Linked DNA regions of Homo sapiens: all the other regions are linked to region 6. Evidence: promoter capture Hi-C in 16 types of primary human blood cells and fetal thymus (Javierre and others, 2016). All regions are on one chromosome and are shown on one strand. Each heading gives the region's core, a stretch centred on a gene start or on the middle of the fragment in contact. The rest is flanking DNA. Distances are from core to core; before and after follow the strand shown. Region 1 overlaps FGGY (FGGY carbohydrate kinase domain containing). Region 2 has its middle 32 kb from the start of MIR4711. Region 3 overlaps LOC105378758 (a long non-coding RNA gene). Region 4 overlaps FGGY (FGGY carbohydrate kinase domain containing). Region 5 overlaps FGGY (FGGY carbohydrate kinase domain containing). Region 6 holds the start of TACSTD2 (tumor associated calcium signal transducer 2). Region 7 overlaps FGGY (FGGY carbohydrate kinase domain containing).

The links. The method cuts DNA at HindIII sites, captures the fragments that hold promoters and counts their contacts. A CHiCAGO score of 5 or more calls a contact.
Region 1: a fragment that was not itself captured here is called in contact with the fragment with the promoter of TACSTD2 in region 6 in 12 of 17 cell types (total B cells, monocytes, naive B cells and 9 more); the score reaches 9.7 in total B cells.
Region 2: a fragment that was not itself captured here is called in contact with the fragment with the promoter of TACSTD2 in region 6 in 9 of 17 cell types (total B cells, M0 macrophages, monocytes and 6 more); the score reaches 8.6 in total B cells.
Region 3: a fragment that was not itself captured here is called in contact with the fragment with the promoter of TACSTD2 in region 6 in 1 of 17 cell types (monocytes); the score reaches 5.4 in monocytes.
Region 4: a fragment that was not itself captured here is called in contact with the fragment with the promoter of TACSTD2 in region 6 in 8 of 17 cell types (total B cells, neutrophils, naive CD8 T cells and 5 more); the score reaches 9.5 in total B cells.
Region 5: a contact is called between a fragment that was not itself captured here and the fragment with the promoter of TACSTD2 in region 6, in 2 of 17 cell types (neutrophils and total CD4 T cells). The highest score is 8.0, in neutrophils.
Region 7: a fragment that was not itself captured here is called in contact with the fragment with the promoter of TACSTD2 in region 6 in 6 of 17 cell types (total B cells, monocytes, fetal thymus and 3 more); the score reaches 9.6 in total B cells.

The regions. Positions count from the first base shown.
Region 1 is chr1:59,746,509-59,750,232 of GRCh38, forward strand. The region is part of intron 14 of FGGY (FGGY carbohydrate kinase domain containing); the gene reads left to right. Among named protein-coding and RNA genes, the nearest start is that of MIR4711, 15 kb to the left of the region's middle. The HindIII fragment of the contact is 3,013 bases long and covers 694-3,706 here.
Region 2 is chr1:59,763,254-59,766,918 of GRCh38, forward strand. No RefSeq gene overlaps it. Among named protein-coding and RNA genes, the nearest start is that of MIR4711, 32 kb to the left of the region's middle. The HindIII fragment of the contact is 2,468 bases long and covers 511-2,978 here.
Region 3 is chr1:59,786,167-59,789,503 of GRCh38, forward strand. It overlaps LOC105378758 (a long non-coding RNA gene), which reads right to left. Exons shown (of 5, transcript XR_947426.3): 4 at 2,911-3,016. LOC101926944 (a long non-coding RNA gene) reads left to right here. Exons shown (of 3, transcript NR_110627.1): 3 at 2,453-2,666. Among named protein-coding and RNA genes, the nearest start is that of HOOK1, 27 kb to the right of the region's middle. The HindIII fragment of the contact is 2,058 bases long and covers 355-2,412 here.
Region 4 is chr1:59,712,160-59,715,734 of GRCh38, forward strand. The region is part of intron 14 of FGGY (FGGY carbohydrate kinase domain containing); the gene reads left to right. Among named protein-coding and RNA genes, the nearest start is that of MIR4711, 19 kb to the right of the region's middle. The HindIII fragment of the contact is 1,512 bases long and covers 1,307-2,818 here.
Region 5 is chr1:59,693,521-59,697,339 of GRCh38, forward strand. All of the region lies in intron 14 of FGGY (FGGY carbohydrate kinase domain containing), which reads left to right. Among named protein-coding and RNA genes, the nearest start is that of MIR4711, 38 kb to the right of the region's middle. The HindIII fragment of the contact is 5,575 bases long and covers 1-3,819 here.
Region 6 is chr1:58,575,394-58,579,099 of GRCh38, forward strand. TACSTD2 (tumor associated calcium signal transducer 2) reads right to left here and starts at 1,859. Exons shown (of 1, transcript NM_002353.3): 1 at 40-1,859. The coding sequence starts at 1,763. The coding sequence ends at 792. RefSeq lists enhancers at 627-1,322, 1,323-2,017. The HindIII fragment of the contact is 7,313 bases long and covers 1-3,706 here.
Region 7 is chr1:59,728,836-59,732,472 of GRCh38, forward strand. All of the region lies in intron 14 of FGGY (FGGY carbohydrate kinase domain containing), which reads left to right. Among named protein-coding and RNA genes, the nearest start is that of MIR4711, 2.6 kb to the right of the region's middle. RefSeq lists an enhancer at 2,082-2,376. The HindIII fragment of the contact is 971 bases long and covers 1,597-2,567 here.

The DNA of each region.
Region 1 (3,724 bases), core at 950-3,449, 1.2 Mb after region 6:
ACAGCATCTTACTGTGTCGCCCAGGCTGGAGAGCAGTGGCACAATCGAGGTTCACTTCAGCCTCAACCTCCCAGACTCAAGGGATCCTCCTATCTCAGTCAGCCTTCTGAGTAGCTGGGCCTACAAACACGTACCATCACACCTGGCTAATTTTTATTTTATGTTTTTGTTGAGATAGGGTTTCCCTATCTTGCCCAGGCTGGTTTCAAACTCGTTTCAAGCGATCCTCCCACCTCAGCCTCCCAAAGTGCTGGGATTACAGGTGTGAATCACTGCATCCAGCCTAAAATTTCCATTTTTAAAATGAGGAAATTGAGACTCAGGATGTTCATGGCAGAACTAGGGTTTGGATTATGATCTAAATATCACTGAAGTCTTTGTTTCACAGCAAATGTTTAAAAGTATAGGTTCCAAAGCCATATGTTTTCTTGTCTTTGAACTGGGAATACAAACTAGGTAACGTATTTAATAATATAGTGCTAGGCCATAGTAAGTACTCAACAAATATCAGTTGCCATTATAATTATTGTTATTGAGTTACTATTATTTAATTACAGCTCACGGCAGTACTATATACCTTCTCAGCCTCACATATCAGCAAGATCATATTTTTTTCCAGTCAACAATAGATTATTAGATGAGTGACAGCTTGCAGTTTTGGAACCTATCATCTGTCTGATGCTTTTAGCAAGAAGCTTCCTATTTTTACTTTGAGAAATCCATAAGAAGTAAGTCAAACTCATGTAGATGGGATGAATACTTGCTCCCTATTCATGTTTGGATCCAACTCTTTTGCAGCCAGGCCATATATTAGGACCCCATCTCAGAGTATCACAACAGAGGTTGATGGCCTTACCTAGTATAAAACCACTCCCCTGTGCCGTATTTGCCCATGACTGAATCGGAATGAAACTTTCCCTTGCTAGGAAAACACTGTGGGTATATTCTCTGTCGGAGTGTGCTGAGCAAAACCCTAATAGAATGTACCGTGAGGAATAAGGAGTAACTTGTCAACTGAGAGTTAATCAGAAAACCACATGTGCACAAAACCAACAGATTGCAGAGCTGGCAAAGACTTCAGAGATAATTTACTCCAACCCCCTCATTCTACTGATAAAGAAAGTGAGTCCCAGGGAGGGGAAGGGTCTTGCTCAGGGTCATACAGCTGGCAGTAATTTTGTTTGTTTCAATAATTAATATGAACAGTCATTCTATACATCAGTGAATCCACCTTCCTGCCTTTGTAAGCACAATATAATGACCATAATTGAATTTGTCTTTGACAGTGAAGAAAGCAGGCTTTTAGGGCTTTACAGGGCCCCAAAGTCATCAGAAGAAAATAAATTGTCATGAACTAAAGCTGGAGATCTGCCTGTTGACTGTGAGCTTCTTAAGGAATGGGCCTGGTCTTATTCATGAGCTAAAGCAAGTTTCAAATCCTGGCTTAGCCCTTTACTAGCTTAAGCAAGTACTTAACCTCTCTGAGCCTTTATTTCCTCATTGTAAATTTAAATAATAAGACCTTCCTCAGAGACTGTTAGTGAGGATCAAGGGAGGCAAGATCTGTATACCAGTACCTTGCGTAAAATAGGCATTCAATAAACTTGCACTTTCACCTTACATTTAACAAATGTCCTGCTAAAAGCTAGGGATACTTCAAAGAAAGGAAAGCCAACGACTCCACTTTCATGGAGCTTAGATTCAGGAGGGAGGAGAGCAGAGGTGAGGACCACAGAGAAGCAGGCAGACAATAAACAATTAAAAATATAATTTCAGATGATGATGTGCTATCAAGGGTTATGAGGAAAAGAAAATGAGATGATGTCATAGATGTTTAGGAGAGTGCACTGCTTCTGCTAAGAGTGGCCAAGGGCAGTCTTTTCAATATTATGTTTGAAGAGAACCTAAATCATATGGAAAAAGCCAGACAGTCAAAGATCCTGGAGAAGACCATTCCTGAGAGATTCAGAAAGGCCTTAGGCAGGAGGAAGGTTGGCATGTTCAGCCAGCAGCAAGATGGCCAGTGTGTTCCCAGCATGGCCAGCCCAGTAAGCAGGGCATGAGATGAGACTGGAGACATCTGCATAAACTCCATCCTGAAGTTCTAGTCCACCCTATGACATTTGAGTTTTATTCAAAAAGCGATGGAACACTGTTGCAAGGACGTGTTAAAAAATAAATATTGGTCTTTGTCCCTAGTTCCTGGCACACAGCTTCTAAAATTCTTGGAATCCCTGCTAAAAGCTAGGGATACTTCAAAGAAAGGAAAGCCAAGGACTTCACTTTTATGGAGCTTAGATTAAGCTCCATGTGTATGGTAATGAGATGACTGATGGCTGAGAACCCCTCCGTAGCATCAGGATGGGGGCTGGTCACCAGAAAGACCAAGGCATGATTAGAGGGTTGAACTTTCAGCCCCTCCCCTGACCTTCCAGAATGAGAAAGGGGCTAGAGATTGAGTCAATCACCGATGGCCAATGATTTACTCAATTATACCTAAGTAATGAAACCTTCATAAAAACCCCTAAATGATGGGGTTTAGACAGCTTCTGGATTGGTGAACACAGGGAGGTATTGAGAGGATGGCATGCCTGGAGGAGGCATGGAAGCTCACTGCACCACTGCACCTCCCTCCCCTCATACCTTGCTCTATGTATCTCTTCCATTTGGCTGTTCCTGAATTTTATCCTTTATAATAAACTGGTAATAGTAAGTCAACCGTTGTCTTGAACTCCATAAGCCGATTCTAGCAAATTATCAAGCCTTGGGGGGTGGAGTTTGTGGAAACCTCCAATTTGCGGTCAGTTGGTCAGAAATACAGGAGACCCAGGACTTGTGATTGGCATCTGAAGTGTGGGCAGTCTTGCTGGACTGAGCCCTGAAGCTGTGGGGTCTGACACTAACTAACTGGGGTCAGTGTCAGAATTGAATCAAATTTAATTATAAGTCATGCAATTGGTGGCAGGAGAGTTGGAGAATTGGTGAGTGTGAGGAAAAAACCCATACATTTGGTGTCAGGAGTGTTGTAGGTAAAAACAGCCCAGAGAGGTAAAATCATTCATTGATTCATTTAACAAATCCTTATAGATTAACTATTCTGGCCAGGCACAGTTCTTGGTGTGGTGCATGAATCCAATACACACCCCTGGCCACATGGAGCTTGCATGCTAAAGGGATAATAAATATCTAAAGTTTATGTAGCATTTACTATATGCTGGCATTGTTGTGTTTTACCTCAAATAACTCACGTGCTTCTCATAGCAGTCCTATGAAAGGCATATTTTTATCCCCATTTTCTGATGAGGCAACAGGCATGAAGAAATTAAGTAATTATTCCGTGATTATACAGCTAGTAAATGTAAAAATCCAGTTTCAAATTCTGGCAGTCTGTTATAGTCAGTCTGTATTTTAATCACTGCCCTTTATTTTCTCTGCTTCTGAAAAATCACCTAGACTGGTCCTGACTGCTATAAGGGGAACCAAAGTGGAAGTCAAGAGACCAGTTAGGCAGTAGTGGTCAGAGAATGGGATACTGGAATTTTCAACAACACTGAGTAGATATTATTATTCCCACTTAATAAATGGGAAAACTGAGCTTTGATTCACACATCTGATAAGTAGCAGAGCCTGGATCCAACCCCAAGCCCATTTATCTCTAAAACCCAGTATCTTTCTGCTAATGCCTCCATTTCCTACAGAATTATAAAGCTTCCACTCCTCCCCT
Region 2 (3,665 bases), core at 495-2,994, 1.2 Mb after region 6:
ATAGTCGATGTCTTTTATGGCATTTTCCCCTCCTGTGCAGGATCTAGTCTAGGGTCAGATACCACATTTATTTGCAGAATTGTAATTTCACAATCATCATATTAAAGACAGGTATAGGCAGGAATCATCGATGGATCCAGGAGGGAATTTTGAAGAATAACAGGATATATGCATAATCTTAAAATATCTCTTCAGAATTTGCTTATTAGTTACAAGAGGAAAAAGAACGTTAAGTATACAGGGAAGAAATAGGACAACATCTTGATTAGGTGATCCAAATCAACTTCAGATGGGCAAATGGACATTGTGTGCCTCCAGATATGAGAAAAGAAAGAGCATTTTAATGCAGAGCCTGAATCTAATCAGAAGGAAACATCAGACAAACGCAACATGGGAAGCATTTTATTTTTTAATGGACTATATTTTTCAAAAATATCTATGTCATACTGACAAAGAAAGGCTGTGGGAAGTTTCCAGATTAAAGGAAACTGAAGAAACCTGATGGCTAAAAGCTTTTGATGTAGACAAGCACTGGGAAAACTAGCTGTTTTAGTTGATACCACAGCAGACACACAAACGCACACAGACATACACATACATATACATACATAAATATGTCAACACCCACACATAATTTCAGACCCAAGAGTAACTGCTAACGTTGATTTGAGAGCTGTCATAGCTCAAATGAGTGTGGGTAGAGGACATGCTAAGACTTCAGCAAAAGACAGCAGGTAGAGAAGAAAAAGCCAATATAATTCAGTAAATAAACATCCTCTGGAGTACTTTGTGCCACATGTTGTGGTAAGCACTGGTCTACAGGAATAAATAAGACATGGCCCCTGCCTTCAGGAACCTCCCTGTTTAATGAGAGACATAGACAAATAGATTGATGACAGTACATTATGAGAAATGCTACAATTACAAAAAAAAAAGTACCTGCTGCATGGAGCCCATCAGTCAGAAAAGGAGGAAGGAGAAGGTGGGATGAAAAACAATATGGTGTAACAGCTATGAGCCCTGGCCTGGGATCCTAGGCCTGGTCTTACCTCTTACTAGATGGGTGACTTGGAGAAAGGTCCTTAATCTTCCTAAGTCTCAGTTTCCTCATTTTGAAATGAATAGGTATTGAATATGAATATGTTTTTTTTGTTGTTGTTGTTGTTGGTTTTTTTGTTTTTGTTTTTGTTTTTGTTTTTTTGAGACGAAGTCTTGCTCTCGCCCAGGTTGGAGTGCAGTGGCTTGATCTCTGCTCACTGCAAGCTCCACCTTCCAGGTTCACGCCATTCTCCTGCCTCAGCCTCCCGAGTAGCTGGGACTACAGGCACCCGCCACCACGCCCAGCTAATTTTTTGTATTTTTAGTAGAGACGGGGGTTTCACCATGTTAGCCAGGATGGTCTCGATCTCCTGACCTCGTGATCCGCCCGCCTCGGCCTCCCAAAGTGCTGGGATTACAGGCGTGAGCCACCGCACCTGGCCTGAATATGTTAATAGTACCTACTTTACAGGATTATAATGAGGACTAAAGGAGATAATGCATATAAAGCACTCGGCTCAATTGCATGGTCCATGCCTGTGTTATTACAGGGCTCTGCTCCTAGAAGATGCTCAAAATAGTAACTGTAGTAAGCATGGAGAAGGGTGAGCACCCCAGTTATGAAGGTCAGCTCTGCAATAGCATTCTACAGTATCCAAAGGATATAGGGACCTTAGGCATAGCCCCGAGTGAAGGTGGGTGTGCGTGTCTGATCTAGCTGGCCTAAAAGCAGAAGGAAGCCCAGTGCATTCATAGATCCTAGCCAGAGGTTGCACTAGGGATAAAGGAGGATTGGGGATCACTACAGAAGAGGAGTCGGGTATTGCAGGATCTAAGCAAGATGTCAGGTCTATGGTCAAACAGGCTTCAGCTGCAAAAGCTGATTATCACTCACTGAGAAACGGGCAGGCCTGGACCTGCTCACACAAAACCCTGGTGAATGCGGTGGTTGTCTGTGGATACAAAAGGCAGACATAAAAGCATGAATAATTACCAACTATCTGCCAAGTCCTTGTTGTATGTCCTCTCCAATCCTCCTACAGCACTGTGAGGTAGGCAGCATTATCTCCACCTTATAGTTGAGAAAGTTGAGTTTCAGAAAAGACATAGTTGAGAAAATTGAGTTTCAGAAAAGATAGACACTTTGCCCAGAGTCACCAGATGGTAGCAGAGATAGGATTCAAATCCAGATCTGCCTGGATGCAAAACTTTAGGTATCACCCCACTGTAACAGCTGGAGAGGAATCCTGCCCACCACCTGCTCTTTAGTTGCAGTGCTCATGTTGTTGATTGCCAAGCTCCGGGTGCTGGCCATTCTTTCAAGCAAACTCGTATCCAAACCAAACCTGACCTGAGTTTTCACTGCTTTATAGAGAAAGGAAAACACACAGAAATTAGGCAAAAACACATGGCAACACTAGGACACCTTTGGCATCTCAACAGTGAGGAGCAGCTTGATAGAAAGGAGAAGGGCTGAAAGACCTTGGGCAACATAGCTAACCTGTCTAAGCCTCAGTCTTTCCCTCTGTGGTGGGATCATTCTGCTACCTACCTCCTAGGGTTGGTGGTAAGGATTCAGTGAAAGAACTGTGGATAAAGCCCTTAGCACAATGCCTTTCAGACAATAGGCACTCTACAAATATTGTTTCTCCATGGTTCTCTCTGCCTCCTAGCTAGGAGGTTAATCCCTAAGAAAATCATTCTGGTTCCTACTATAAAGCCACCGTGTTAGGAAAAAATATAAATGTCTATATATAATTCTATTAGAAACCACGTGTGGCTCAGTAATAAAAATTTTAATCACTCCAATACACACCTCCTTGCACTGAGAAAGGTGGTTTTATTTAATACATGCATGTAAAGTATATTTAGCTTTGATGAATAAGAATTGCAGTGTGGCCAGAGTGGTTTGTGAGATTTTTGTTTTGTTGCCTACTGAAAGCTTTTCTTTCAAGTTAAAGCCAGACTTGCTTAGCAAATCATTTTGCCAAGGAACGCATTACAGGTTTTAAATTTTGACCAAAAATACTTCCCATATGCGAAGAACATAAATGTGGCTTTCAAAAGAGCCAAAGAGAACAAAAGCTGGGGGAGGTGAGGAAGAAAAGACAAGAATGACAGAATGGAGTGGCATGTTGCAGAGCTACAGTAAACTACAGGACCCGATGCCACAGTGAGCTGGAGTCCTAGTGAGGCATCCAGAAGGGACGCCCTCTCTTGTGAAGATCCAGACTGGGCATTTGATCTTTATATTCAGAGCATAATCTGTGTTGTTGCCAGTTGCACTGGGGAGTATAAGTTCCAAGAGGAGCAGTAAAAATATCGTAAGGCAACCCTGGAAACGCCCAGCTTTAAGAATGCACCAAATCAGCATGTGAGTTAGCAAGCTAGAATGCTTAGGTTTTAATATCAACATGATCTGCTATTTCTCCCAGGCCTGAGGATAATCACGTTCTTTAGATTTACTTACCTGCTTTTTTCTTCCTCCCCCCGGCCACCGGCCTGTGAGCTCTTGGAGGGCTCAGAGTATCTTATAGCCTGTTCTCTGTACCCAAACAGTTCTTGGCACGTAATGGGTATTCCATAAGTGAATAAATACACAAACACAAGATGTTTTTCTGAAAAAA
Region 3 (3,337 bases), core at 134-2,633, 1.2 Mb after region 6:
GGTGGGTTCCCATGGCCTTGGGCAGCTCCACCCCTGTGGCCTTACAGGGTGTAGCCCTGCTCCTGGCTGCTTTCATGGGTTGGCATTGAGTGTCTGTGGCTTTTCAGGTGCATGGTGCAAGCTGTTGGTGGATCTACCATTCTGGGGTCTGAAGGTCGGTGGCCCTCTTCTCACAGCTCTACTAGGTGGTGCCCCAGAAGGGACTCTAGTCCCATTTCCCTTCCACACTGCTCTAGCAGAGGTCCCTTCCACACTGCCCTAGTATACATCTTCTGACATCTAGGCAGAGGTTCCCAAACCTCAATTCTTGACTTCTATGCACCCACAGGCATAACACCATGTGGAAGCTGCCAAAGCTTGGGCTTGCACCATCTGAAGCCATGGCCCAAGCTCTACAATGGCCCCTTTCAGCCATGGCTGGAGTGGCTGGAACTTAGGGCACCAAGTCCCTAGGTAATGTACATAGTTCAGGGACACTGGGCCCAGCCCACAACACCACTTTTTCCTCCTAGGCCTCTGGGCCTGTGATGGGAGGAGATGCCATAAGGACCTCTGACATGCCCTAGAGACATTTTCCCCATTGTCTTGGGGATTAACATTTGTATCCTCATTACTTATGCAAATTTCTGCAGCCATCTTGAATTTCTCCTCAGAAAATGGGATTTTCTTTTCTATCACATTGTCAGGCTGCAAATTTTTCAAACTTTTACGCTGTTTCCCTTTTAAAACTGAATGCCTTAAACAGCACACAAATCACTTCTTGAATGCTTTGCTACTTAGAAATTTCTTCCACCAAACACCATAAGTCATCTCTCTCAAGTTCAAAGTTCCATAGATCTCTGGAGGAGGGGCATAATGCTGCCAGTCTCTTTGCTGAAACAAAACGAGTCACTGTTGCTCCAGTTCCCAACAAGTTCCTCATTTTCATCTGAGACCACCTCAGCCTGGACCTTATTGTTCATATCACTATCAGCATTTTTGTCAAAGCCATTCAACAAGTCTCTAGGAAGTTCCAAATTTTCCCACATCTTCCTCTCTTTTTCTGAGTCTTCCAAACTGTTCCAACCTCTGCTTGTTACCCAGTTTCAAAGTTGCTTCCACATTTTTGGGTATCTTTTCAGCAATGCCCCACTCTACTGGTACCAATTTACTGTATTAATCTGTTTCCATGTTGCTGATAAAGATATATCTGAGACTGGACAATATACAAAAGAAAGAGGTTTAATTGGATTTACAGTTCCACGTGTGTGGGGAAGCCTCACAATGATGGTAAAAGGCAAGGAGGAGCAATTCTCATCTTACATGGATGGCAGCAGGCTAAGAGAGAATGAGGAAGACACAAAAGTGGAAAACCCTGATAAAACCATCAGATCTCATGAGACTTATTCACTCCCATGAGAACAGTATGGGGAAAATGCCCACCGGTTCCCTCCCACAACATGTGAGAATTATGGGAGTATAATTCAAGATGAGACTTAGGTGGGGACACAGAGCCATACCATATCACCTTCCATGCTGTCAGCTATGGGTGTGCACTCTCTTTCTGACTAGAGCCCTGATTGATAAAATGAATATTTATAAAATGGAAGAAGTTGGAGAAAATAGAGTCTCATTATTAAACCCCTACTACAGGCCCTGCACAGAGGCAGGCATCTTTATAGTGGATATTCAATAAATGCTGATAAATTTGAAGAAAAGGGAATAAGACAAGGTAAAGCAGATTTCACAAAAATCTGAGACACAAGATTCAGATCCTTTGTGTCAGATGATCCCATTTCCCAAATTTGGAATGTGAACAGAAGAAAGAGAGACAATGAGGATTGTCTGTTCAACTCAGCAAGCCTGGAAAACAACAATGCTAGTATGTATGGAAGACATAAAATACTATTCTAGGTTTAAGTAAGATTTAAAGGAAAATAGTACAGTAAAAGGCAAGTACATGATTTTTCACTTGTCATTTTGTGAACTTGGGTATAGAGTGGAAGTGAGCAGACATGAACATAATTAATGGAATGGCCATTTTTCTTACATGCCTAACCATTTTTTTGCATGATTTACAATTTTCAAATGCTATTCCCTCAGAAAAGAAATTTTACCTTGTTTTCACAAGAAAAGATCAAGTTGAAGAATGACTTTAACAATAAAGTAACCAGTGCCCCCAAAGTATATTATTCACAGTGTCTAGCATAGGCACAGTGAAAGGTTCATGGGTATCCAGCAAATTCTGTTGTTGGTCCTGGAAACCAACAAAGTCAGATATTCAAAATGCCTTTCTTGTTTACAAAAAGTATTCTACTTGTTATCGTTGTCAGGAGAGACCCTTTCACTCAGATCCTCTTTATCGAGAAAACAGAAAACCCTCATAAAAGCATCAGATATTTAAAAAATTTTTAAATTTCTCTTTTGAGCACAAGCTTTTTGTTTGTTTGTTTATTTGTTTTGTTTTTTACAGGAGAATGGAGATGTCTCGGATTTTTTGTGCACAAATTGTCCTCAGAACCAAACAAAATAACCAGCATAGGAGAGAATTCACAAAGTAAGAGACTCATAAAGTAAAATGTTTTGCTTTACTTTTTGCCTTTTTCATCCTGCTTTGTTTTTCAACATGTGTAAATCATTCTGTTACTATAAACTTAATAAAGAAGTAAAAGAGCAAAGACCAAAAATGTAATAATGAAATAAAGTTTTTATCAGTTATAATTTTTTGGCATGATCAGGTTATCTTTGGTGTACACTTCAGGGTTTTGTATTTCAAACACAACTCTTCTTAAAACTTTTCATGTGTCCCAGATGTGACCTAGTTTCCTTCTGGGAAATGAATGCTGAGTGTTGTACAGACAAGTCAAACAGACATAGCTATTTTAGGAGTCATTAATGTAGTGCTTATAGAAACCAAATATGTAAACCCACCTGGCCAGGAAAACCTTTATTGAGTATATACTTTGTGCTGAGTGATATTCCAGGCTCCAGAAATGAAAATACAAAGGGCAAGGCCCAATCTTGAAGAGCTCATGAACTAGTAAAAGAGAACAACAAACATGTTACAAGGCAAAAACAAATTACAAATGTAAATAATAAAGCCAAAGCATAATATGTACAATAATGGAAGCCTGAAAAAGGTAAAGAAGTATTACATAAAATGGAGCCATTTGTTCTGTCTTAGGAGAGCTCAAAAAAGCCTTCACAGAAAAGGTAGAATCCAAGCAAATTCAAAAGTTTAAAGTCCAGTTTGGAAATTTTCTTTCAATTAAGTCATGACGTGTTTATGGACAAATATCCACTTGAATCAATAAGAAAAGGAAAATGACTAGCATAATGCTGCACATAAAATAAGAAT
Region 4 (3,575 bases), core at 813-3,312, 1.1 Mb after region 6:
TCCAAAATCCAGCAAGGCAGTCAAATCTTAAAGCTACAAAATGATCTCCTTTGACTGTGTCTCACATCCAGGTCACACTCATGCAAGATGTAGGTTCCCATCATCTTGGGCAGCTCTGCCCCTGTGGTTTTGCACGGTACGACCTCTCTCCCAGCTGCCCTCACAAGCTGGCATTGAGTGTTTGCAGCTTTTCCAGGCGTGCAGTGCAAGCCATCAGTGGATCTACCATTCTGGAATCTGGAGGTCGGTGGCCCTCTTCTCTCAGCTCCACTAGGCGGTACCCCAGTAGAGACTCTGTGTTAAGGCTCTGACACCACATTTCCCTTTGCACTGCCCTAGCAGAGGTTCTCCAAGAGGACCTCACCCCTATAGCAAACTTCTGCCTGGGCATCCAGGTTTTTCCATACATCTTCTGAAATCTAGGCAGAGGTTCCCAAACCTCAATTCTTGACTTCTGTGCACTGGCAGGTTCAGCACTACATGGAAGCTGCCAAGGCTTGAGGCTTGCACCCTCTGAAGCCACAGGCCAAGCTATAGGGACGCAGGGCACCAAGTCCTAGGCTGCACACATCATGGGGATCCTGGGCCCGGCCCACAACATCACTTTTTCCTCTTAGGCCTCCAGGCTTGTGATGGGAGGGGCTGCCATGAAGACCTGTGACATGCCCTAGAGACATTTTCCTCATTGTCTTGGGGATTAATATTTGGCTCCTCGTTACTTATGCAAATTTCTGCAGCCGGCTTGAATTTCTCCTCAGAAAATGGGATTTTCTTTTCTATTGCATTGTCAGGCTGCAAATTTTGCAAACTTTCATGCTCTGTTTTCCTTTTGAAACTGAATGCCTTTAGTAGCACCCAAGTCGCCTCTTGAATGCTTTGCTGCTTAGGAATTTCTTATGCCAGATACCCTAAATCATCTCTCTCAAGTTCAAGGTTTTACAAATCTCTAGGGCAGGGGCAAAATGCCACCATTCTCTTTGCTAAAACATAACAAGAGTCACCTTTGCTCCCATTCCCACAAGTTCTTCATCTCCGTCTGATACCACCTCAGCCTAGACTTTATTGTTCATATCACTATCAGCATTTTTGTCAAAGCCATTCAACAAGTCTCTAGGAAGTTCGAAACTTTCCCACATCTTCCTGTCTTCTTCTGAGTCTTCCAAACCGTTCTACCCTCTGCCTGTTACCCAGTTCCAAAGCCGCTTCCACATTTTTGGGTATCTTTTCAGCAACACCCCACTCTACTGGCACCAATTTAATGGGTGACACACTCGTGCAGCTGGTCCCCACTGCAGGTCCTTCACAAAGCTTCACTAGTCCATGAGAAATGAAACAATAAGGACAGGGTATTGAGATTTTAACAAAATTAAATGTAGACTATTTAAATGATTCTCCTTTATTCTGATATCATGATAACCACTTTTTTGGTATTAAAATCTCCTTTTGGTTATGAAATAATGGTGAGAGTAAATATGGAGCAGTTGCTTTGTTTAAAGTCCTTATATAATCAAATAAAAAGCTGACAATTATGTTGTAGATCTCCAAAAAGTTTGAATATTTTATTGGTCCAAAGTTTGAGAACTCCTACTCTAAGACTTTCAAGAAGATGGCCCTTCCCACATGTGGGGCTGGAACCTCTTCCCCTTTCACTATCATCAGAAAGGCTTCCGCCCTGGATACAATTAGTATTTGTTGCATACTTCAGTATTTTCTAGGTATATCTTTGCTTTTTGGAAGTCTAAAACATCTGGTAGAATCTTTCAGAAGAAGCAACACAGAATAGAGGCATTAAAATCAAAATTTGAAGTCTGAAACTTCTGTTTCTTACCATCATTAAGAGAGAAGTGCCCAATGACAATCATTTCTCCAAACCATCAGCAGCTCCTTGGAAATGAAGTGGAAGGGTGATAATATATCCAGGACAGACCTAGCTAATGTCTTAATCTTGGCATAATTATTAATAATAACATTCCCTTTCCTTCCAAAAAGTGTCTAGGACTCAAAGGTGAGTTCATTGGGATAATAAACTATGGCCACCTTAAATGAAGGCCCCTTCAGCTCTCCTGAGCTAGAAAGTCCCAAAGAGCCTGCTCTTTCCCTGGGCAGGAAGCCATGGTGACCAGTGGAAGGATTATGTCTGTCTTACCAGAGGCCTGGGTTGGGTGCCAGCATGAAGCCTGTAGGATCTACTTAGATCTGGGACTTCAAAGACCTAGTGGTGGGTGAATCTTTGTGGCTTCCATCATTGCTTTGTCTCTGGGAGCATCAAGTTGAAGGCCAAGCTAGTTTCTTTCCTTTGATGAGGGAAAATATGTCAACACAATGGTCCACTGAACTCTGGGAATAGACAGACATGTGGTGTCTTTGGGGGATTATAGCCTAAATGGTTTTACTCTGGCACATGTGGAATTAAATATAAAACAAACAGCTGATTGCTGTTAAATTCACATGCATAAAAACAACCATTACTATGTCTTCTCAGCTACAGTACCAGAGAGTCCCCCTAGAATCAAGCAGTTATTAGATGGGACTTTGGAGTGAGTGTAGAAAAGAAAAGGAGGAGGAGAAGGAAGAAAATGAGGAAAAGAGGAAGAGGAGAGAGAAATAACAAGTCAAATAGGTGGAGAGTTTTGAAAGTTACAAAGTCTGTGCCATTTAGCATGAGTTATTTTTCCTTTTTATTCCTTGTATTTGACATATGAAAAGAAATCTTTGCTGATACTGGCTTCAGATTCTCAGGTTTAAGTATGCTATCCTTGACCCAGGAAAGAGTTACATGCATCATACTTCCGAGGCCTTCAAAGAACAACTTGGAGCAAGCTTGAGAGTTTGCAGGGCATTTTGGTGACATTTCTGGATGCCCTTTGTTTCCCCCTTTCAAGAAAAGCCCTTTCTTTCGTTGCCTTCTCACATAACAGCTTGGGATTCTTGTCCCTCCCAGAAATGCATTTGAACTTGCTGGGTTTGTTAAGAGTCAGGGCATGAAGCATTTTTCCATGGTAGAAAAGTTCTGGCATTCCAAAGCAGAACTAATGTGGGATTTGGGAAGCTTGCCCTATTTGTGCACTTAATTAGAGCTCACCAAAAGCAGCTGATCCATTGGTACCATAAAAAACCAATGCTGAGACCAAGGAAGGCTAAGACTGTGAGTACCCTTAGAGGGTGGTGAACATGAATTCCACACCTGTTCCCTACTGACTGGAATCAGGATTCAAAGGCAAAAAGTTGTGTGCTTTCCAGCAACATTCATTGGGATCCGCAGCCCAATTTAATCAATTGATAGGTTGCCAGTGTCTAAGTCAAGTCCCGAAACACTTGGTTCCCCTTGGGTCAATGAAATTTGGTCTTGGTTCTAATACAAACTTTAAGTTGGCTAAAAATGGCTGAGAAAACTACTGGTTTTAGAGTCAGTCAAGCCTGTGCTCTAAGTCTGACTCTGCCACTATGAGATGTCAGATCTTGGAGAAACTGTTCAGTTACTTCTGAGCTTTAGTTTGCTTCCCGGTAAAGGGACATACTAACACCTATTCCATGGGTCCATTATATACACAACAGCCAACATTTGTTGAGTAATT
Region 5 (3,819 bases), core at 329-2,828, 1.1 Mb after region 6:
AATGGTAGTGGTGGTGGAGAAGAAGAAGAGGAAGGAGAAGAGGAGGAAGAAAGAGCAATTGAAATCATATACGTGCATAGAACTGTGAAAGCTGGTGGTAATGGTAGTGGTGGTGGAGAAGGAGAAGAGGAAGGAGAAGAAGAGGAAGGAAGAGGAGGAGGAAGAGCAGTTGAAGTCATATACGTGCACAGAACTGGGAAAGCTGGCCAGGCTCGGTGGCTCACACCTGTAATCCCAGCACTTTGAGAGGCTGAGGCCAGTGAATCCCTTGAGCCTAGGAGTTTGAGACCAGCCTGGGCAACATGGTGAAAACCTGTCACTACAAAAAATACAAAAATTAGCTGGATGTGGTGGTGTATGCCTATAGTCTCAGCTACTCGGGAGGCTGAGGTGGGAGGATTGCTTGAACCTGGGAGGCAGAAGTTGCAGTGAGCCAATGTTACGCCACTGCACTCCAGCCTGGGCAACAGAGTGAGACCCTGTCTCAAAAAAAGTAAATGGCCGGGCGCGGTGGCTCACGCCTGTAATCCCAGCACTTTGGGAGGCTGAGGAGGGCGGATTACAAGGTCAGGAGATCGAGACCACGGTGAAATCCCATCTCTACTAAAAATACAAAAAATTAGCTGGGCACAGTGGCGGGCGCCTGTCGTCCCAGCTACTCGGGAGGCTGAGGCAGGAGAATGGCGTGAACCCGGGAGGAGGAGCTTGCAGTGAGTTGAGATCACGCCACTGCACTCCAGCCTGGGCGACAAAGCAAGACTCCGTCTTAAATAAATAAATAAATAAATAAATAAATAAATAAATAAATAAATAAAATACTGAAAGCTCCATGTGATACAAGTGAGGACCTCCATAGTCAATGTCAAAATACTTTTGGTCAGTTCGTGGACTGGTTCACATGTCTTATCAGTTTTCTCAAAGTTTCCATTGTCTACATAGCCTTTTTTGTCATGCCCAGTATGCATGCCTGCTCTGATCCTTGGCTATGAAGTTTTCAATGGGAAAGGGACAACCAGGACAAAGAATTGGTAGAAACCATGAGAAATATTTTCTCAGAGACCAAGGTCTCCACAGGCCAGGATTTCTCAGAGTCTTCTTCGATATATTAAAAAGTATTTCTGGAAAAAATTAGTTTGAAAACTGCTATGATGTTCAAGATAACTAGGTGTCTTTTTTTTTTTTTTTTAAAGAGATGGGGTCTCAATGTGTTGCCCAGGCTGGACTCTAATTCTGTGCCCAAGAAATCCTCCCTCCTCAGTTTTCCAGGTAGCTGGGACTATGGATGTACTTCACAGTACCCAGCTCTAACTAGGCGTCTTCATAGCAAGGCATCTGTTAAGACTTTAAAATGTAAACATGCATTGTGAATCTCCCAGGTTGGATAGGCATAGAGAGTATGGTGTTTCCCAAATTTACTTGATCGAAGAATTAGTTTTTCATGGAGCATCTTACTTTGCTAAAGTTTCAAGTACCAAAATTGGGAAATGTTGATGTAAGCCCATAGCCAAGACAATCAAGCCTTAAGCATAGTACCACAAAACAGGTTTGAAAACTCCTACTAATCCTTCCATCAATTCATGTATCTATTTAACAAATTAAAAGAGTTCTATATGTGGCAGTGACTATGTGCTAGATGGTGGAGAAACAATGACAAGCAAGACTAGTATATTCTCTACCCTCTCAGAGTTCTGGTGGGCCTACTGGGGAGAGGGAAAAGTTGCCCACTAATTTTATTGCAATGACAAGTGAAAAGATGGAGAGGACAGGTGCCATGACACCGGGAGCAGCGGCTTCTTACCTAACCTGGTGGGTCAAGGAGAGTTTCCCAGGGAAAATAACTTCTAAGTGGAGACCCAAAGGAGGAGTTACAGCTGTAGGACACATAGGAGCTTGCAACACACTCGCCCATGCATTCCATGTTGTATCCTCATGACAACCTTTCTTGGTAGATGCAATGAGAGTGGTAAAAGTTACTAAGTGGTCATTACGACCTAATGAGTTCCTACTCAATGAGTCAGGCACTGTGCTAGGCATCTTACAAATTTATTGCATATAATCTTGACGGCAATGAGCAGTATCCTCAGTTTACAAATGAGAAGTTGAGGCTCATGGGAGATAAGTGGTTTCCCAACCCTGTACATGTAGTTAGTACAAAACCAGGACTTTCAGATCTGCCTGATTCCAAAGCCCATTACACTGTGGTCAACCAGTGCTGGGCCTGGACCGTGGCTGGTCCATAACAGGGTTTTTACTAGTCAGAAATACGGAAGAGTAAGCAGAATGTCATGAGTTCTTCCTTAAGCTAATTTTTTTCTTCTTAAATGACATATTATCCTGAGATGTCCCCCTCCCAACCATTTGATGTAGAAAGTCCTGTGGGTTTTTTTTTTATATATTACTTGTCAGAGAAAACTTTGAGCTTCTTCTTAGCAAAATAAAAACTTTCTAACCATATGTCAGTCTCCCAAGTCATTTTGGAAGTGTTGCCATCTATGAAATCTAAAAATCATGGAAGTTCTGTGTATGCAACTTTCTAGAACATATTCCTTCTAAAAGTGAGAGAAATATGAACCAGCACATTGCTGTGAGTTCTGCTGGTTCAAAATTGGATGAGTTGCTGAATTCCATGGGCACCAGCAGCCAAAAATGGAGATAAAATAAGATCAAGTGTCATCTTCCAAAATGTACAGACATACCACCAGTGACATTCAGGCATTCTACGTCCTGGTTTATAGACACCCTTTTTCTAAGTTTTAATAGATACTAGAAAAGTACCTAGCATTAAACCTGGGTTTTCATGAACATTTTTCCCTAGAAAATTTTAAAAAGAAAGAAAAGTTTTTTTCCCAGGACTTAAAGAAATATTTTATGACTAATCAATACTATAGGTAGTACTTGAGAAAAGAAAATAATTGTGAAGATAGGACCTGAATTACTAAAATGTGTGAAATAGTACGATAATATGTATAAAAGTGCCTCATGCATAAAAGGCCCCAGTAAATGCTTTCTTCCTCCCTGATTCACATGGTGAGCAAGTGGCGGGGGCCCAGGACTAAACCTCATAGCATCAGACTCCCAGTCCAGTGCTCCTTCCAAGAGGCCTTTCAATTGTTTTCTTTCTGTCTACCTACCTCACACTGTGTCCTTCATCTCTCTGTCTAGCCCCCAGGAAAAGTGCAGCAAGTGCAGGTATTTCTGAAATGACGAGTGGCTCGCAAAAAGGATCTGATGAGTGTTAATAGTAAGCAATGTGTACCTAAGAGTGTAGACACTATTAGCATTTGGAAAAATAGGAATCTGAACTGAGAACTGGAAGGGCCCTTAGAGATCATCCCACACAAACCCTCTTTTTACAGATGAGGAAGTTGAGACCCAGAAACGGGAAGTGCTTTGTGCATGGCCAGAGAGCTCGTTGCTGATCAAACCAGGACAAGCATCCATATGAAACACGCAAATGTAAAATTACATGAAAAAAAAAAACCCTTTACCTCCAGATGTACTGCTTTCCAGAAAAGTGGCGAGGAAATACCACAAAAATACCTTTACTTCAAAAAATTTGAAAATGTTGAAGGTCATGCTTCATATTGTGCCAGGCAAGAGAACATTGTACATAATTGTAAATCACCATTGGAGGAGGTGGTCCTGGTTGTATTCTTTTGTTTGTTTGTAATACACATAACATAAAATTTATCATCTTAACCATTTTTAAGTGTACGGTTTGGTGGTATTAAGTTCATTCACATTATTGTGCAACCATCACCACCATCCATCTCCGGAACTCTTTTCATCTTGCAAAACTGAAACTTTACCCGTTAAACA
Region 6 (3,706 bases), core at 609-3,108:
ATCTGGAGGGACTTTTCACAAATGCCGACTTCTGGTTTGTGCCTTTCCCATATTTTATTAAATTCGTGTTTTATTTTAAAAAATTACAGCAACATTATCAAAGACAACATATGTACAAACATTTTACAAAAAAGAACATTACCAATATCAGTGGCAGTAAGGGCAAGCTGAAGAATAAATAGACTGAGTTTCCGGGCAATGTCTGTCCTCAAAGACATCCAAACTGCGTTCAGGCAGCTGAAACAGGCTTCTTTCCCAGTGACAAGCATATGTGGTCAGTAATACAAACGATGGTAAATGAGGCTACTACATAGGCCCAGTTAACAAACTCCTCTTCTCCTCGGGTAGGCCATGATACAAGTGGAACTCATCAAATAATTTAAACCCAAGGCGATAACAACGCTATTTCCCATCTAAACTCATTTAAGCCTTCACAATGTCGCAATGGATTCAGTTACTTGCAAACGATCCCGGGTTGTCATACAGATACTTGTTTTTTACACATAACGCTATGCCATCCCTTCCTTCACTGCCCCAGTCAGGTTTCCTGTTGTTGGACCGAAAGGGGATACATTTTAGAAATGCTTCCTTCAAGACAGAAGTGAGAAAGAAAGGAGACCCTGAGGCCAGGATCTATTAAACCTGGTGTGTGCGCAAAAGGGAGGGGGAAGGCAGGAATTTGAAAGGATAAACGTCTCCTTTGCGCCGAGGAATCAGGAAGCGTGACTCACTTGGGTCTGGGACGATACCGAAATCCGGTACCCCACCCCATCCCCTGCCCCGCCGGGTACCTACAAGCTCGGTTCCTTTCTCAACTCCCCCAGTTCCTTGATCTCCACCTTCTTGTACTTCCCCGACTTTCTCCGGTTGGTGATCACCAGGACGGCCATGCCGGCGACGAGGGCCACCACGACCACCACGATGACGGCGATGAGGCCGGCGGTGAGGCGCTTCATGGAGAACTTCGGGGGAATCTCGTCCAGGTAATAGATGAGCGTGCGCTCCACCTGCAGGGGTTCTCCGCGCACGCGCAAGTCCAGGCCGCCGCGGCCCTGGAATAGAGACTCGCCCTTGATGTCCCTCTCGAAGTAGTAGGCGGCATCGCCGATATCCACGTCACCGGCGGCCTTCTGAGACGTGTTCTGCCGCAGCTCGATCTGGATGGTGGGCTGCTCGTAGTGCACGGCCGCCACGAACTTGGGGTGCAGCCGATAGCGCTCGCGGAAGAGCCGCCTCAGCTCGGCGTCCAGGTCTGAGTGGTTGAAGGCGCCGGCGGTGGGGCGGTGGCGCAGGTCAATGAGGATGTGGTGGGTGCGCACCAGCTCATCGCAGCGTAGGCTCAGGTCGCCCTTGTCCGTGCGGCGCACGCCCACCGAGTTCACGCACCAGCACACCGACGTCTGGTTGCACTGGCGCGCCTTGAAGCGGCCCTCGGGGTCGCAGTCGGGGTCGTAGAGGCCATCGTTGTCCACGAGCGCGTGCTCACTCGGCCGCACCAGCGTGCGGGCGTTCTTGGGGGCGCTCATGCGCGCCTTGAGCAGCAGACACTTGGAGGTCAGCGTGGAGCAGTCGACCGCCATGCCCGAGCCCAGCGCGCGGCACTGGCAGCGGCCGCCGGGGCCGTCGGGGCTGCACACGGTCATCTTGTTGGTGGGACACGTGCAGTTGTCCTGCGCGGCCGTGTGGCCGGTCACCGCCGCCAGCACCAGCAGCAGCAGCGGCAGCCGCAGCGGTGGCGGCGCGAGGCCGGGGCCCCGAGCCATGGTGGGGCGGAGGAACGCGGACCGGACGCGGGCGGATGAGGCGCGGGGACTCGTCGGGGCTCGGGCTCCGGCGTCTGGGATGGTCTGCAGGCGTCTGCCGCCCGGCCGCTCCCTCCGGCTCTTATACTCTACCCGACCTGCCCGGCTGGTTCCACCACCGACCGTCCCCACTGGTATTTGGGTGACACATCCCGCCCCCCTCCCCGTCCCACGGAAGGCCAAGCCGGCCCTGCGCCGCCCGCGATAGGATCAGAACAGGGAAGCTGCTCCCGCCTCCTCCGGACCGAAAGCCGGGAAGGGGAGAACCGATACTCACCTGTAGGCTTCTGGGGACCCGCCCTCGGCGCGGCCTCCTGCTACAGACCTGGCGCGTCTGGGCCGCTCTCCCGGCAGAAAGTCTAAAGAGTTTCATTGCAAAGTGTGGCTCGCGACTGTCGCGCTCTCCTCTATACGCGACTCCCTTTTCGTTCTTTCCCAGCCCCAGCCCTCCCTTAATTTCTCTCACTCCCTCTCTTCTTTGTCCAGTTCTCACAGTAGCACACGTTTATATAGTTTACAGTTCACAAACATTATCTCATCCTAACACCAGTCCTGACAGGTAGGGACTATCAGACCCGTTTTATAGGTGGTACTGATGAGGCTTAAAGACCTGAAGTCACACTGCTATCAACTTCCTCATATTTCTGAGAGGGGTCTTTGGCACCCTGCCTAGGAGTGATGAGACCTTAAATAAAGTGTTTGTGGACACGAAGTGACACAGAATCTGAAGGGAAGTTAGGGAAGCAGTTCTGTTACTCACCATATCAAGGGTAAAACACAGGTATCCTGGTGTCCAGAGGGTTAAAAGTTCTGTTAAACACTAATTTTCTGTACCTCACACAAGCGCACACACACAGGCACACACGCACATAATATTTATTTGTGCACTGGCTATAAAGAGACAAACAGGAACAAATTCTTAAAGAGCCAGCAAGACTGTAAAGAGTTTTTTGTACAATTTGATTCTAACACAGCAAATCGTTGCTTTTCTTTTCCTGTATCCCACGTAAGTAGCTGAACCATGTAAATAATGAAAGAATGGAGCCTGTGAGAAATTGCTTGTCTGCCACTGTGTGGCTAGTTTCATGGCATACAGGGGTTGCAATCTCTTTTTGAGTCATTGAGAAAGTCTAGAGTTTCAAAGCTGTGGTAAAATTAACAATAATTAGCAAGCTATAATTATTCCCAGGTCCTCCATCAAAGCACATTTTATATGTTCAGCATTTAATGTGCACCACCAGTCGTGCAAGGGTGTTGTTTAGCAGATGAAAGCCAGCTGGGCCTCTGTCCCATTAATTTTCACGCAATTCCTGAGGCAGGAAGATTGAAATATATTCTGCCTTGACAGACAGAGGAAGCAGAGACATGTGAGGGACAATTTCTTTTTTCTTTTTTTTTTTTGAGACGGAGTTTTGCCCTTGTTGCCCAGGCTGGAGTGCAATGGCGTGATCTCGGCTCACCACAACCTCCGCCGCCCAGGTTCAAGCAAGTCTCCCGCGTCAGCCTCCCGAGTAGCTGGGATTACAGGCATGAGCCATCAAGCCTGGCTAATTTTTTTTTGTATTTTTAGTAGAGACAGGGTTTCTCCATGTTGGTCAGGCTGGTCTCAAACTCCTGACCTCAGGTGATCCGCCCACCTCAGCCTCCCAAAGTGCTGGGATTACAGGCATGAGCCACCACGCCCGGCGAATTTTTTTTTTTTTTTTTTTTTTTTTTTTTTTTTTTGAGACGGAGTCTCGCTCTGTCACCCAGGCTGGAGTGCAGTGGCATGATCTCAACTCACTGCAAGCTCCACCTCCTGGGTTCATGCCATTCTCCTGCTTCAGCCTCCTGAGTAGCTGGGACTACAAGCGCCTGCCACCACGCCCGGCTAATTTTTTTGGTATTTTTAGTAGAGACGGGGT
Region 7 (3,637 bases), core at 832-3,331, 1.2 Mb after region 6:
TTTTGATTATGATTTGCTCAGCTTTCGATATTTTCATATTTATTCTACTTTGTGTTCTCTGAACTTCTGGATCTATTGTTTGGTGTTTCTTCTTTATTTTGGGAAATTCTTAGCCATTATTACTTCAGATATTTCTTCTGCTCCATTCTCACTTTGTTATCTTCATATTCTAACCATGCATATGTTATACGTTTTGAAATTTTTCTTGGGTGTCCTGGGTGTTTCCCTCCATTCTTTTTTCTTTTTGCATATCAGTTTGGGAAGTTTTTAACTGATGTATCTTCAAATTCACTGATTCTTTCCTTGTCCTTGTTAAGGCCATCAAAGGCCTTCTTTGTTTCTGTTGGTCTTTTTATTATTATTATCATTATTATTATTATTAGGATTTCTTTTAGATACTTTTTTAGCATTTTCGTCTCTCGTTACATTGTCCGTTTGTGCATAGTGTTTACTTTTTCTATTAGAACACTTATTAATCATAGTTGCATTAAATTATCTGATAATTCTAACATTTGTGTTATATCTGAGTTGGGTTCTGATTCTTGCTTTCTCTCTTTGGACTGTGTTTTTCTTGCCTTTTAGCATGCCTTTTAATATTTTGTTGAAACATGGATATGATGTATCTGGTAATAGGAACTGAGACAAATAGGTCTATATGTGACATTTTGTGTTAGAAATTGAACTGTGTTTAATGTTTGTTATAGTTGTACATGCCAGAGGCCTCACATTCTTCTATTGTCCTTATTTTTTCATCCCCACTATTGTCTTTGGCGTCCCTAAGATCTCCTCCTTAGATAGAGTCTATGTCTTGCTGCTCTTTGAGCTGTAATTCACTAATATTATACTGGGGTCATGTCGATGTGGTTTTAAGGTATGGGGAAGGAAAAGCATTCTATAATCTTTTGATTATATCTGTCTTTTAGTGGGACTATGTCCCTGAGCTATGACCTTCATAGATGTTCTTAGGCCCCTACTCCTTTAGGTGAGACAGAAGGCTTGCAGGCACTAGAGTTGAAGAGATGTCCTTCCCCTGTGTGCAATAGGCTTTTGTAAAGTCTCTTCCTCTTAAAAGGTCTTTATTATGGAGAACTCTGTGTTATGGAAAAACACTGTAAAAAATATTTTACAGTGTTTACGCTTTCCCTCCCCCTGCCAGAGCCAAGAGGGGATCATTCTTGACTCTTTGGATTCCTGGAGGTAAAACCGATGAAAGTGTGGGCCCCCTTCCACTAAGACTGTTACCCTCAGGAGTTGCTCGCTTTCCTATTAGTCCACACTCAGCCCCCAACACTTCAAATTACCACTGAAGTGTCCCTACCAGTTTATGACTCCAGCAGCTGCTCCTCCAAGTAAGATCTCAGCTGTGACTGTCTGGGTTGTCCTTTCTCTTCAGATTTCAGGGTGATAGTTTGTCCTGTAACCTCAGTTCTCTTATGGATCCAACAAAAATCACTGATTTGCAGTTTCTTAGCTTTTTTTTTTTTTTTTGGAGTAAGGATGGGATAAATGACTTAGACAGTTTTTACATGTTGGAGCTATAACCACAAGTCTCTACATGTCTTTAATGTACTTGCTGACTTTCCCTACTGGAATGTAAGCTTATGAAAGCAGGGGCCATGTCTGTTTTATTCATAGCTACAGCTTCAGTAGCCAGAATAGCACCTGACTCAAAGTAAGCGGGCCAATAAATAGTTGCTAATAGACTAATTAATCTCTTGGCAGTCATTGAGCATATTGTTATACCAGGCACTGTGCTTAGTGTGGAAAGACATCAGGTGCCTACATTATTACAGTGGTGTGGGGGCAGGGCATGGTGGACATACAACTAAAATAACAATAAACCACAGATCAGAGAATAGGGAAGTTTTAAAGCACTGAGGACACATACCTCATCTAGCCCAAGCAAGAGGGAGGTAGAGGTAAAGCATTGCCAGAGAAGAAAACCATCACCTGAGTTGAGTTGTAAACAATGAGTAGCTGTTAGCCTGTATAGTGGAGAGGGACCCAGCCAAGGAGACAGCACAGACCTGTCAAAGTCCATGTCGGACAACATGCAAAGTGATTTACTTAACCCACCTCATGAACGTTTAGTAGCCCACGCAAGGCAGGCCCCTGTTAACTCACAGGTCAGGAAACTGAGCCTCAGACAGTTTAAGTGACTCGACAAAATGTCACCAATGCTGAGTGATGGAGCAAGTCGGCTTGAGGCCAAGGTCCATTTTCTCCCTGCTACAAAGATGACTAAGCACGACTCAGAGTCTGGTGGAGGAGCAGAACACATAAACAGTCTTTGATGATACCCATGCTCTTTTGAATTTGCTCTATTGTTGTTCATTTTCTTTAAGATTTCAGCCCTAGAAGTAGCAAGCTGAAAATCAGGGCTGCTTTGCAAATGCCCACAAACCACTGAGGGGAGTTTTGTCAAAGAAGGCGGGAAAGAAAAATAAATGTGGGCTTCTGCTCTTTAAACCTCAGCCCAGTGAGGCAGACTTTCCCGGAATACTTCAGGCCTCTTCAAAGGCCTATTGTGGAAAGTGTCCAGATGTGCGTGGAAAACCTCACTGGGAAGCTTCCCGGTGAAGAGGCCTTTTAAGCATGAACCGAGATGAAGGAAGCTGACGCCATGAGTCCTATCAGGTGGCCTTTTTTCTGAAGGAGCCCAGATTTTCCCCTAACCTTAAGAAGGTTGTAGGGGGTTGGGTGATTAGCCAGTTCGTATTCCTTTGATTACAGGAAGCAGTGGGGTTAGTTGTTTTTTGTTGTTGTCTTTCCTTTTTTTGCTGAAGTGAGAAGAGGAGATGGGGGTGGGGGGCATTCTCCATATGATTTATCTACCTGTAAGTTGTTAGTGACAGTCTGGTCATTCCTCCAGCATACCTTGTGAGGGCCAGGAGGGATTTCTGGATTGGATAAAGTTGAGGCACTGAGTAAGTCCTGCTAGTTTCTATGATGATGCCTCTGAGTGTTCTAAGAGTCAGAATCCCCTGGAATCTGGCTCTGATCCCCTGCTCCGAATCCCTGTTTAAGCTCTCTTCCCAATGCCCTGTTTATCCTAGGTTTGAGGCCCCATCTTCCTCTTGCTAGATACAGTTAAGCCAGAGAGACCCAGATTTAAATCCTGCTCTCTCATTAGCTGTGTCATCTTGCACAGAGTAGCATCAGCCTCACCGAGCCTCAGTTTCCTCATCTGTAAAATGGAGGTAATACCAGTCCCGTCATCATCCAGTTGCTGTGAGGATTAAATGAATTGCTGAGTTGCCGCACACAAAGCATCTGGTCCAGTTCCTGGCACAGAGTGAGGGTTCAGTTTATTTTCATTCCTTTTCTCTTTAATCCAGTTGTACAAAGAGGCAGAGCTGTCCCATTTGACCAGAGAATTTTACTTCTGTAGCTCTTTAAATTCTCTCCCCGCCATGTACATATGGGCTTAGCTAAGTATTTTGAGATCACAGTGTATTTAGGGGAAAGTCCTTTTGGCTACAGCTAAAATTAGGCCTCTCTTGTGCTCCTCTGTTTACCACCCCCCTTCCTATTTTAACTAATTAGAGGCATTGACACTAAGAAACACTTAAGAAAAGTTGGAAGAACAGCTGGGAGTTGTTCTAGATACAAGCAGCTGCTCCCTGTCAGCATGCAG